Regions from separate parts of the Homo sapiens genome. Here region 1 is linked to region 2. Evidence: promoter capture Hi-C in 16 types of primary human blood cells and fetal thymus (Javierre and others, 2016). All regions are on one chromosome and are shown on one strand. Each heading gives the region's core, a stretch centred on a gene start or on the middle of the fragment in contact. The rest is flanking DNA. Distances are from core to core; before and after follow the strand shown.

Region 1 (5,352 bases), core at 1,258-3,757, 1.3 Mb before region 2:
CTTTCTTGCAAGTGACAGAAAATCCAACTCAAATTGGATTAAGCAAAACAAGGCAAATTCTTAGTGAGCTGAAAAGTCTTCAGGCTCACATTAGGCCCCAGACCCCAGACCCTCCCAATCATGGAGTAGGCACTATTTGGGGCACAAAGGTGACACTCCCGTGGCTGCAGATGCTGTGGTGGCTCTGGCTCTGTTGAGAAAGAATAAGAAAGGCCACTCTCTCCCTTACATGAACAATAGTCTGTCCACTCTGAGAGACTGAAATTGGGTCATGGTCCTGCCCCTGAGCCCGTCACTGATTGGCTCTGACCTGCATCAGCTGTTCCATGCTGAAGGTGGAGGCAGGACCCCATTCATACCCAGAAGGGAGCAAAAGGTAGATCCCTCACCAGAATTATGGGATGTAGGGTGAAAGGCTGCTGGGCAGCCAGAAAACAAACAGATCCTCTACAATACTTCAACTGATGAAAGCATGAAGCTAAAATCATAAGGATCCGGGTGTGAGTTCTGTCTCTCCCATATTCCATGTGACGTTGGGCAGTTATTTAATCTCTTTTAGCCTCAGCTTTCTCATCTGTACTTACATATAAGGTCATTGTGAGGATTAGGGTTATTAATCATCGCCGTCATCCCCGTCCACCACTTATCATCATCCTCCCCATCAACATCATCACCACCACCGTCATCATCATTACTACCATTACCATCACCACCATTCCACCACCATCACCATCATCACCATCACCACCGCCATCATCATCATTACTACCACTACCACCGCCATCACCACCATCACCATCACCACCATTGCCATTATCACTACCACCACCATCATCACCATCACCACCACCATCACCATTATCATTACCACAACCATCATCACCACCACCATCATCACTATTATCACTACTATCACCATCACTATCACCACTATCATCATAAATAAACATCACATAACCGGCGTGTAACCGGGCCTTGACCCCAGAGCCCACTCGCTGTGTCCTCTCTCCCACCCCCTTCTGCACATTTCTAACCACCATCCTGCACTGGCTCCCTGTCTCCTCTGGTCTCACCCACATGTCCACTGAGAAAATGATTCTCAGAACACTAACTAGACCAGGAGGAGTCACAAAACATAACTCAGATCTGTTTATCGATTTTCTATATGTTGATGACATCAGATCAATGGGTGTTCTCAGCTTCTCAGAGGGAGGTCGAAATTCTCCCCCTCTCCCCTTCATGTTTCCAGACCTTCCTTGACTTGGATATTCCAAATGCAGAGTAGGTGTTGAGGCCAAGGGGCTCTTCCGTGTCAGCCCCATCCACAATCACTGGGCTAATCTTGTGGCCCTCTCCCCAGGACCCAATCAGGGAGGGCTTCAATCCTCAAGGTCACCCGTGGCCCCCCGCCCTCAGAGGTGCCATCTCTACATTGGCCACTGGATGGCAGCACATACTCACAGACCGCGTCAATTTCCTGGCAACTAGTGGTGGGTTTACCTCCTGATCAGGATGTTTGCCTTGCTCTGAGAGCAGATCTGAGAGCAGTGATATCTAACTTAATTTTCAGCAAAATATTTTGAAAAGGGTGCTCCCTCACCCATCTACACAGTCCACGTCATGCACCCCCTGCCCGATGCTTGGTAGCCAGGAGGAGCTTCCTCCATGCAGCTCCTTCCCGGCTAGGGCTGAGCTGGGCTCTGGAGCCAGGCTCTGGGAAGAGCCTCTTCTACGCTGCTCATGTAAACTCCAGATTCAGTGTCAGTTTTCTGAACCTGAGACAATGATCTAAGTGCAGTCCAACACTTTGGGGGAAGAAAGAAAGAGTGCCTCAGCTTTTGCCTGTGTCATGCTCGCAAAGCAAAATATTTTGAGAAATTCTAATCAAAGCTGGGCTTGCAAAATTGGAAAACGATTATTTGTGAGAGCACTGAGACATCCTTGGCGTGTCCATCTGGAAAAACAGCATTCCCTCTGGCAGTTTAGCAGATGTTCTGTTTCAATTTGGCAAAGGAAATAAAGCAGTTTTTCACAAAAGAAAAACTACAACTAGGAGAATTGTCCCTAGTTGTATTTCTTCTCCCTAATTGTCAAGGAAGTGTAAATCAGAAAATGAATCAGGACAATTTCCACCTACTATGTTAGCTAATCTTTTAAAAATTGAATACTCACAAGGGTGAGGAGAATTGTTTCCAGTAACATTTTATACTGTCACACACTTTTAGAAAATAATTTGGGAGTGTTACCGCGAGATGGAAATATGTCAACATAATTATGGGAACTTAGACTTCAGAAAAGAAACGAGAATGAACTTTATGAACAAACATGTGGAAGATTGGAAGCAAGAGTGGGGCCAGTGTGCACGGGGAGGAAGCATTTGGGCAGTGACTCCGCAGACCCAGGCTCAAGCTGAACTACACAACCTCCTTACACCTCAGTTTCCTCAGCTGTAGAACAGGAATGATAAAAGTGCCTGTTTCATAGGACGGTTGTGAGGATGAAGTGAGATACACCACATTAAGAGCTTGTGCCTGAAAAGGTTAATTCTTAGTAAATGACGACTATTCTTTTTATTGCAATAAAATATACACAACATAAGAGTTAGGATTTTAATTATTTTGCAGGGTACCACTGAATGGCATTCAGTACATTCACAATGGTGTGCAACCATCACCATATTTTCAGAACATTTTCCTCATCTCAAAAGGAAACCTCATGCCAATTAAGCAGTCACTCCCCATTAAAATATTAGTTATGAAGATTGTAGCATTATTTTAAAAACTCATGATATACATTGATTGAAAAAATCAGTATATAAAATTGTGCATTATGATGTAAGTAGTAAAGAAGCATATAAAAAATCTGAAAAAGTATATAAAAAGAATAGCAATTGCATTTCTCAGACTCTCTTTACATTGTAAAAATCATTTTCATACTTTCAAAAGAAAAGCAAAAAGTACACAAACAACAACGAACGTAAAACACCATGACAAAGCCCAGATCGTTAAACCCAGATCTCAGGAACACAGAATCATATATGATGTTTACACTCTCCAAGGTCAGAGAGTCCAGCGGCATTGGGAGCTGCCTTGTGTTCTGCAGCCTCACGGACAGACAGGAGGTCCAGTGCCACTGCTCTGTTCTTCTGGTTTTCCTCCTAAACATGTTTTGGGTTCAGCAACCATTTCTTTCATCTTTTAAACACAGGTACCTTTGGGGCTGGCCTTCTCAAGGAAGCCCCAGCTTCTTGTGATTGAGAATAAAGTGTGCAATCGCTATGAGTATCTGAATGGAAGAATCAAATCCACTGAGCTCTGTGCTAGGCATTTGGCTGGAGGCACTGACAGTTGCAAGGTAAGAAAAGGTCAAGAGACCAAAGTTAGTCTTGTGCTCTCCCTTCTTGGTCTCAGCCCCTTAGACTTCAGTCCCAAAGAGGCAAATTCTAGAAGGATTTGTCAACGTTAGACCCCAGTCTAAGTGTTGTTTAGAAACTGCCTAGATCTGTCCCTGAATGCGTATTCAGATCATCTAAGGGGATGTCTTGGGGCTTGAGTTCCAGATCGGTAGCAAGGGAGTTTTAAGTGCCGTAACTACCTCAGGCCACTCACCCTCCTGGGGTGTGCTGGTGGCCAGGGACTAAAGTGGTGACTTTTCCGACAGGGAAGGAGGTAGAGGGTACAGGACAGAGACCAACTGCACATACTTTACAGTGATGCCCAGGCTAGGCCAGTCTAAAGGAAACACCAACACAGGAAGGGATGTGTGCAGGATTCACAAGGGTTTTTTTTACCCCTGGGAGAAACTAAGTGGTGTGGTTTCGCTGAATAGATTTTGCTAAGTACTTAAGCACTGCAGATGCTCCAGTAATATGCCCATAAGTTCCTTTCCAATTTCAATTACTGGGAAAATATACATATGGACAATAGATGGATGCCACAATAAAAGGCTGGCAGCCTAACCCTCACATGAATTTTTCCCTACCTCTATTTAGGGTGACAGTGGAGGGCCTCTGGTTTGCTTTGAGAAGGACAAATACATTTTACAAGGAGTCACTTCTTGGGGTCTTGGCTGTGCACGCCCCAATAAGCCTGGTGTCTATGTTCGTGTTTCAAGGTTTGTTACTTGGATTGAGGGAGTGATGAGAAATAATTAATTGGACGGGAGACAGAGTGACGCACTGACTCACCTAGAGGCTGGAACGTGGGTAGGGATTTAGCATGCTGGAAATAACTGGCAGTAATCAAACGAAGACACTGTCCCCAGCTACCAGCTACGCCAAACCTCGGCATTTTTTGTGTTATTTTCTGACTGCTGGATTCTGTAGTAAGGTGACATAGCTATGACATTTGTTAAAAATAAACTCTGTACTTAACTTTGATTTGAGTAAATTTTGGTTGTGGTCTTCAACATTTTCATGCTCTTTGTTCACTCCACCAATTTTTAAATGGGCAGATTGAGGGGGTTGTGCTGTTTTTGATAAGGAACAGAGCACAAAGACCTGAGCAGGCTGCAAGGTCACAGAGGGCAGAGCCGAGAAGTCCTAGGAAGTTGTCCATGCATTTACCTCATCAGCTAACGAGGGCTTGACACACATTTTTATGTCTTTATACCTAACTCTGAGATGAATGTTTTCAAAGCTGCAACATGTATGGGGAGTCATGCAAACCGATTCTGTTATTGGGAATGAAATCTGTCACCGACTGCTTGACTTGAGCCCAGGGGACACGGAGCAGAGAGCTGTATATGATGGAGTGAACCGGTCCATGGATGTGTAACACAAGACCAGCTGAGAGTCTGAATGTTATTCTGGGGCACACGTGAGTCTAGGATTGGTGCCAAGAGCATGTAAATGAACAACAAGCAAATATTGAAGGTGGACCACTTATTTCCCATTGCTAATTGCCTGCCCGGTTTTGAAACACTCTGCAGTACACGTGTCACAGGAGAATGACCTGTGGGAGAGACACATGTTTAGAAGGAAGAGAAAGGGCAAATGTACATTTTTTACGATTTAAAATTTTAATTGTTACCAAACAAAAATATCCACTCAAAATACAATTCAACAATGCAACAGTCATCTTACAGCAGAGAAATGCAGAGAAAAGCAAAACTGCAAGTGACTGTGAATAAAGGGTGAATGTAGTCTCAAATCCTCAAAGAGTTGTGTTTATTTCATCGACAAATAGATTATTCGTATTCAATTCTGATGTGTTTTAAAGACTAAGATGCTCATTTTACGATTAGCGCACATGTGTATATTGTCACCTGTTCTCCTTAGAAAAATGCTCTTCCTCATGGTTAATGTTTCCCTTTGGTACCAATTTTGCCTGTTTGCATAAAGTATTTCATTTT
Region 2 (4,980 bases), core at 271-2,770:
GGGAAGTTGGAAGACTTTATTTAGTTTTATTCCTCTCAAGTACTGTGCAAAGTATTCAGTGAATACTTTCCTAGAGTTCACTAATGGGAAGAAAAAGACCCTACGGCAGGCACTGCCTTTTATGAGAAAGTGGCATTGGCATCAGAATACCTCGCATAAACCTGAGCCAAGCATTGGGATGATGTATCTACCAAAAAGTCACAAAGTAATGTGATCCCCAACTTTTCTTCCTTTACCCCTGAAGTAAGAGAACAATATATACACTAAATAGCATCATAAAACTGGTACCCTCGTTGGAATAGTATCTGACGATCATTGTCTGCTTCTTGGATTTCTACAAACCAATAACCTAAAAGCCAGTTTCAAGTGTAAAAATGCCTGCAAAGGAGGTGGTAACAAGGGCCGCCAAAGGCTTAGGAATGAAAACCTCGCCACAAACTTGTCTCTCTCTGCAGGAAGCTTGCAAGAAATCTGACAGGAGCGCGCTAGCATTTTCTGAAAAGCATTGCTCTCAAAGGAAGCATCCATCCTGGCTGCAGCCTCAGCCATTGGGGAAGGGCGAGTTTCTCTGGAATCAGCTTTCTCATTTCCCTCTCCCTCCTCTCAAGACAAACATTTTCTCCCAGCTTGAACGTTCCCCCCGGGCGCGCGGGCCTCCTGCCGCCTGGAGCCGAGCTGGCACTGGAGCGCTTCTCCTCTGGAGCGCAGAGGCACCCGACGCCCTGCGGCAGCTCGCAGCCTTTCCCCCACGACCTTCTAGAACAGCCCTGCTCTGCCTCCCTCCGGTCTCCCGAGTGCGCCCGTCATCCTGCCTCGCGAGAGGTGAACGCGGAGAAAGTAGGATGACCACCTACGCTCCCGAGAAATTCTGGGCAAAGAAAGGCATTACCCCAGTCCGCACGCTGAAAGTCGCCTTTCTTTTCCTTTTTTCCCCGCTGTGCCTGAATCTCCCGGGACACTTAGACGGCTGGAGCCTCCCGACTCCAAGGCGGGCGACGGCAAAGTTAAACGCCAGCGCGCTGCGGTCCCCGGGCACCGAGGCGTCCCCGCTCCCGCCACCCACACAGGGCGCCAAGTGCCCCGACCCGCGAGTGACGAGGACGCACAGGCTAGTGACACGACCCGTAGCCAGCACTGAGCGGGACGACGGGGCCCGAGCGCAGGAGGGTGCGCGGGGAGCTGAGGAGCGCCGGGGGCCCGGGCGCGGCGCGTACCTGAGGCCGCCGCCGAGGAGGCGACGGGGAGCAGCGCGGCCAAGAGCAGCAGCGCCGCCCAGGACAGCCGGCGCGGCGCGCGCAGGGTCGCCCCGGCCTCGGGGGCCATCGAGAGCCCGGGGTGGGCCGGGGCTGGGTGCTTGCGGCTGGCAGGGGGGCGCTGGCCGGAGTCTGGGGAGTGCCGAGGCGCCGCCGTCGGGTCCCCGCCGCCGTCCGTCTGTTCTGCGCGCTCTGCGCGGTGCCCGCCGCGCCCCTGCCCCGCGGCGATCGCTCCCGGCCGCACACCGGCAGCCGCGCTCCGCCACTGAGGCCGCCGACCTCCCGCCGAGCCTTTTAGCTGCGCTCGGGCGCCCCCTGCCGGTGTGCGGGGCCGGGGCCAGGGCCGGCGGGGGCGACCCGGGCGACAGGGGCGACGGGGGCGGCGGGGCCCGGGCTGGAGGCGGGCGGGGCGCGGGACGAAGGGGCCGGAGCGCCCCGGACTGACTTAGCGGTTCTGAACTTGGGGCGGTCGCTGTGCCGGGCCAAGTGGCTGAGGAAGTTCCTCCCCTCGTCTAACCCTCTCATTTTCTGGCTGGGGAAGTCGCCCATCGCGCCGAGGAGTGCCCTTTGTCCCCTTACAGAAACACCTCTGCGCCCCAAGTGGGGACTCGGGCCGGGACCCCTCACCCGGTCCGCAGCGCTGTAGTTCCTGTGGCTAGCCCAGTCCTTCCACGTCCCTACCCGCACCCGGCGCGCCCACGTCAGGGGTTTTCAGCGTCCTTAGACCCTGCTCCGTCTGGCTGTCATTTCTAGGGCGCGCACGATGCGGGTCGAAAAGGAACCCAGTTTTCAGTGTGCCTTGTTGCCCAGGCCAAGGACTCAGCGGACCTCGCCTCTCCCTTTTCTGTAATTGTAACACTGCCCCAGGTCTCCCTATTCCTCCTTCTCCCTATTCCTCCTTCCAGCCTGGAAGCCTCGCGGCCCTCCAGATGGACTCGGAGCGCCCCTGGAGGCTACAGTGACCTAAGCTCTAGGAAGGCCGGGTCCTGGACGCCGCGTGCTGCTGTCCGCCGCCGACCGGTGTCCTCGCAGAGATAACCTGGCTGAACTCACCGCCCAGCGCTATGTCAGTTCTCCCTCATGACAACCCAAAACTTGACCGGATTTGTGTTCTGCAGAGAGGAAAAAAAAAAGGTAAATGAATTGCAAAGAGATGAAAACCAGAAATACAGTATCTCTTTGAATTTGAGCACCCAGGAAAGGTGTAAACCTACCGCCTTCCTTTCCAGGAAACTCTCCTGCTTCCCAGCAAAGGTTTTTGTTTGTTTGTTTTTCTTTTTCTTTTTGTTTTGAGACAGGGTCTCCCTCTGCCTCTGCCGCCCAGGCTGGAGTGCAGTGGTGCAGTCTTGGCTCACTGCAACCACCATATCCCAGGCTCAAGCCATTCTCCTGCCTCAGCCTCCTAAGTGGCTGGGACTACAGGTTTCAGCCACCATGCCCAGCTCATTTTTGTATGTTTTGTAGAGACAGGGTTTCCCCACGTTGCCCAGGCTGGTCTCCAACTCCTGAGCTCAAGCAATCCGCCCACCTTGGCCTCCCAAAGTGCTGGGATTACAGGCGTGAGCCACCACGCCCAGCCCAAACACACTTTCCTGCATTACTCCCTTATGTTATCATGTTTCCCCACATGCCATTTAATGGAGCTGTGTGGTTTCTGTCTCACCAGCAGCCACCCGGCTCTGCCTATTTTGGGGGAATGGTAGCTCCCTCCCCAACTCCAACCAAGTGACAGGCCCCCTCCTTACTCCCACTCCTTCCCAAAGCCCCACTTCCCCACTGGCTCAGGGCTCTGCAGTGGCCTAGACAGGGTCACTCAGAGTTGGGACTCTTCTAACACGGGCTGGTGGAAAGGTCTCTTTCTCCCATCATTCGTGGATTTGGAAGGATGGTAGCCATGGCAGGCTGAAACACAGCCTTCCTCCCCAAAAAGACATTCCTGTCCTAGTCCCTGACCCTGTGAATGTCACCTTACATGGTTTATTAAAAAGCAATTAAGCATGCTGAGACAGAGAGATTATCGTGGATTATCTGGGTGGGCCCTAATGCAGTCATGTATGTAACTTATAAAACAGAGGAGAGGGAGATTGACGCACACAAGAGAAATCCAGGTGAGGACGGAGGCAGCCATGGGAACGATGCACCCACAGCCCAGGGATGCTGGCAGCCCTCACCAGAGGCTGGAAGAGGCTCCTCCAGAGCCTGTGCTGGACTTCAGGCCAGTGGAACTGATTTCAGACTTCTGGCCTCCAAGACTGAGAGAGCAGATTTCTGTTGTTTAAGCCACCCACCCCGTTTGTAATTACTTCTTACAGCGGCCACCGAACACCAGTGCAGTAGCCAGGATGGGCCTGTGGCTCTGGCTGCAGCCTCCAGGGACACCAGCTGGAGAGAAGGAAGCCACGCATGGAGAGCGGCCAGGTGGGTAGAAAAGAGCCGGGCAGATGCAAGAGTCCCGGGCTCCACCTCACCCCTGCGCTTTCTGAACGCTGGTTCTGGGGACAGCACATTCCCTTTTGCTAACTTGGAATGAGATTTCTATTTTCTATAACCAATGAGTCTTGACTAGTGCACTCCCCCCTGTTCTTAAGAGGACAAGAACCAAGACTTATCTTTATTGCTCATCTGTCACCCAAAAGAGGCCATCACAGAACCAAACACAGTAATATCCAGGAAATGCTGAGGTTAATTGCCATTCATTCATTCATTCAGCAAATACTTATTGTGATCTACTCTGTCCCCAGCACTGCTGTAGACCCCGGGGATTAGCAGTGACTGAAAGCAGATGAATAGCAGGAGTTAAGTTAAAAGCAGAGAAGGGGAGGCAGCACTGAGGACTTTACAGGCTGCAGGAAGGGTTTAGGCTTTCAATCTGAGAGGTGAAGGGCAACACTGGAGAATTCTGATCAGAGGAGACACGGGTAAGCAGGCTCTTACAATCCCAGTGAGGCAAGACGGTGCTTGGACATGATGGACAGCAGTGGGGCACGAGAACCAGTGAGGTTCTGGATGCATCTTAAAGGTATGGTTTGGGAGATTTTCTGACTCATTGGATGTGGAGAAAAAGAGGATTTGCAATATACCGAGTCACACTATTCTCATGCTGCTGGTTAACTCTCCATTGTGACTTCTGTAATTTCAGGATGTCACTCTTTAGTTTCATTGTAATGAACTAATCATATGCCATAATCTCTATATGCACACAGTGAAAGCTCAACAGACATCAGTTTCCTTCCCTGCATCCTCAGGAGATGCATGTGCACTTACCTTCCTCCCCAGAATACTTATTAGAGCAACTTTCTTAGGGGTACATTTCAGAGTGAAGCACAATGCAAAATTACTTCCAATTTTAGAGTTTCAGAACCCTCAACCATGGGCTGTTTGATATTAAATGAAATTACTGACACTTATGAGTTCTGATTCTGATTTCATTACAAATATGAGAGTGTGTGTTTTAATCAAAAGGTATTATTACCTTTAGGCTCAAAATATCTTAAAGAAAATGGAACTCGGAGTCAGTCATCTGTTCTCAACGTGGTCATCTCAAAAATATGAGCACACGGAAGTTTTCTTCCTTCTTGTCAGTTTTGAGTCCAATATCAATACTGTTGTCCTGTGAAAGATTTTAAGATTTAAATGTTTTTTCATGTAATTTCCTGATGTCTTGATTGTTGCTTCTATTTTGTTCATCAAAACCAAACAGAGTGGAGGTTGCTCTGGGGCTGGATGG

Evidence for each region. Contacts are between HindIII fragments. The CHiCAGO score rates a contact against its expected background, and 5 or more counts as called.
Region 1: a contact is called between a fragment that was not itself captured here and the fragment with the promoter of FNDC1 in region 2, in 1 of 17 cell types (total B cells). The highest score is 7.6, in total B cells.

What each region holds. Positions count from the first base shown.
Region 1 is chr6:160,452,226-160,457,577 of GRCh38, reverse strand. SLC22A3 (solute carrier family 22 member 3) reads right to left here. Exons shown (of 11, transcript NM_021977.4): 11 at 5,001-5,352. Among named protein-coding and RNA genes, the nearest start is that of SLC22A3, 110 kb to the right of the region's middle. The HindIII fragment of the contact is 6,115 bases long and covers 1-5,352 here.
Region 2 is chr6:159,165,940-159,170,919 of GRCh38, reverse strand. It overlaps FNDC1 (fibronectin type III domain containing 1), which reads right to left and starts at 1,520. Exons shown (of 23, transcript NM_032532.3): 1 at 1,215-1,520. The coding sequence starts at 1,323. FNDC1-AS1 (FNDC1 antisense RNA 1) reads left to right here and starts at 913. Exons shown (of 4, transcript NR_121668.1): 1 at 913-1,108; 2 at 2,159-2,387; 3 at 3,566-3,671; 4 at 4,732-4,980. RefSeq lists an enhancer at 166-665 and a silencer at 1,472-1,641. The HindIII fragment of the contact is 8,244 bases long and covers 462-4,980 here.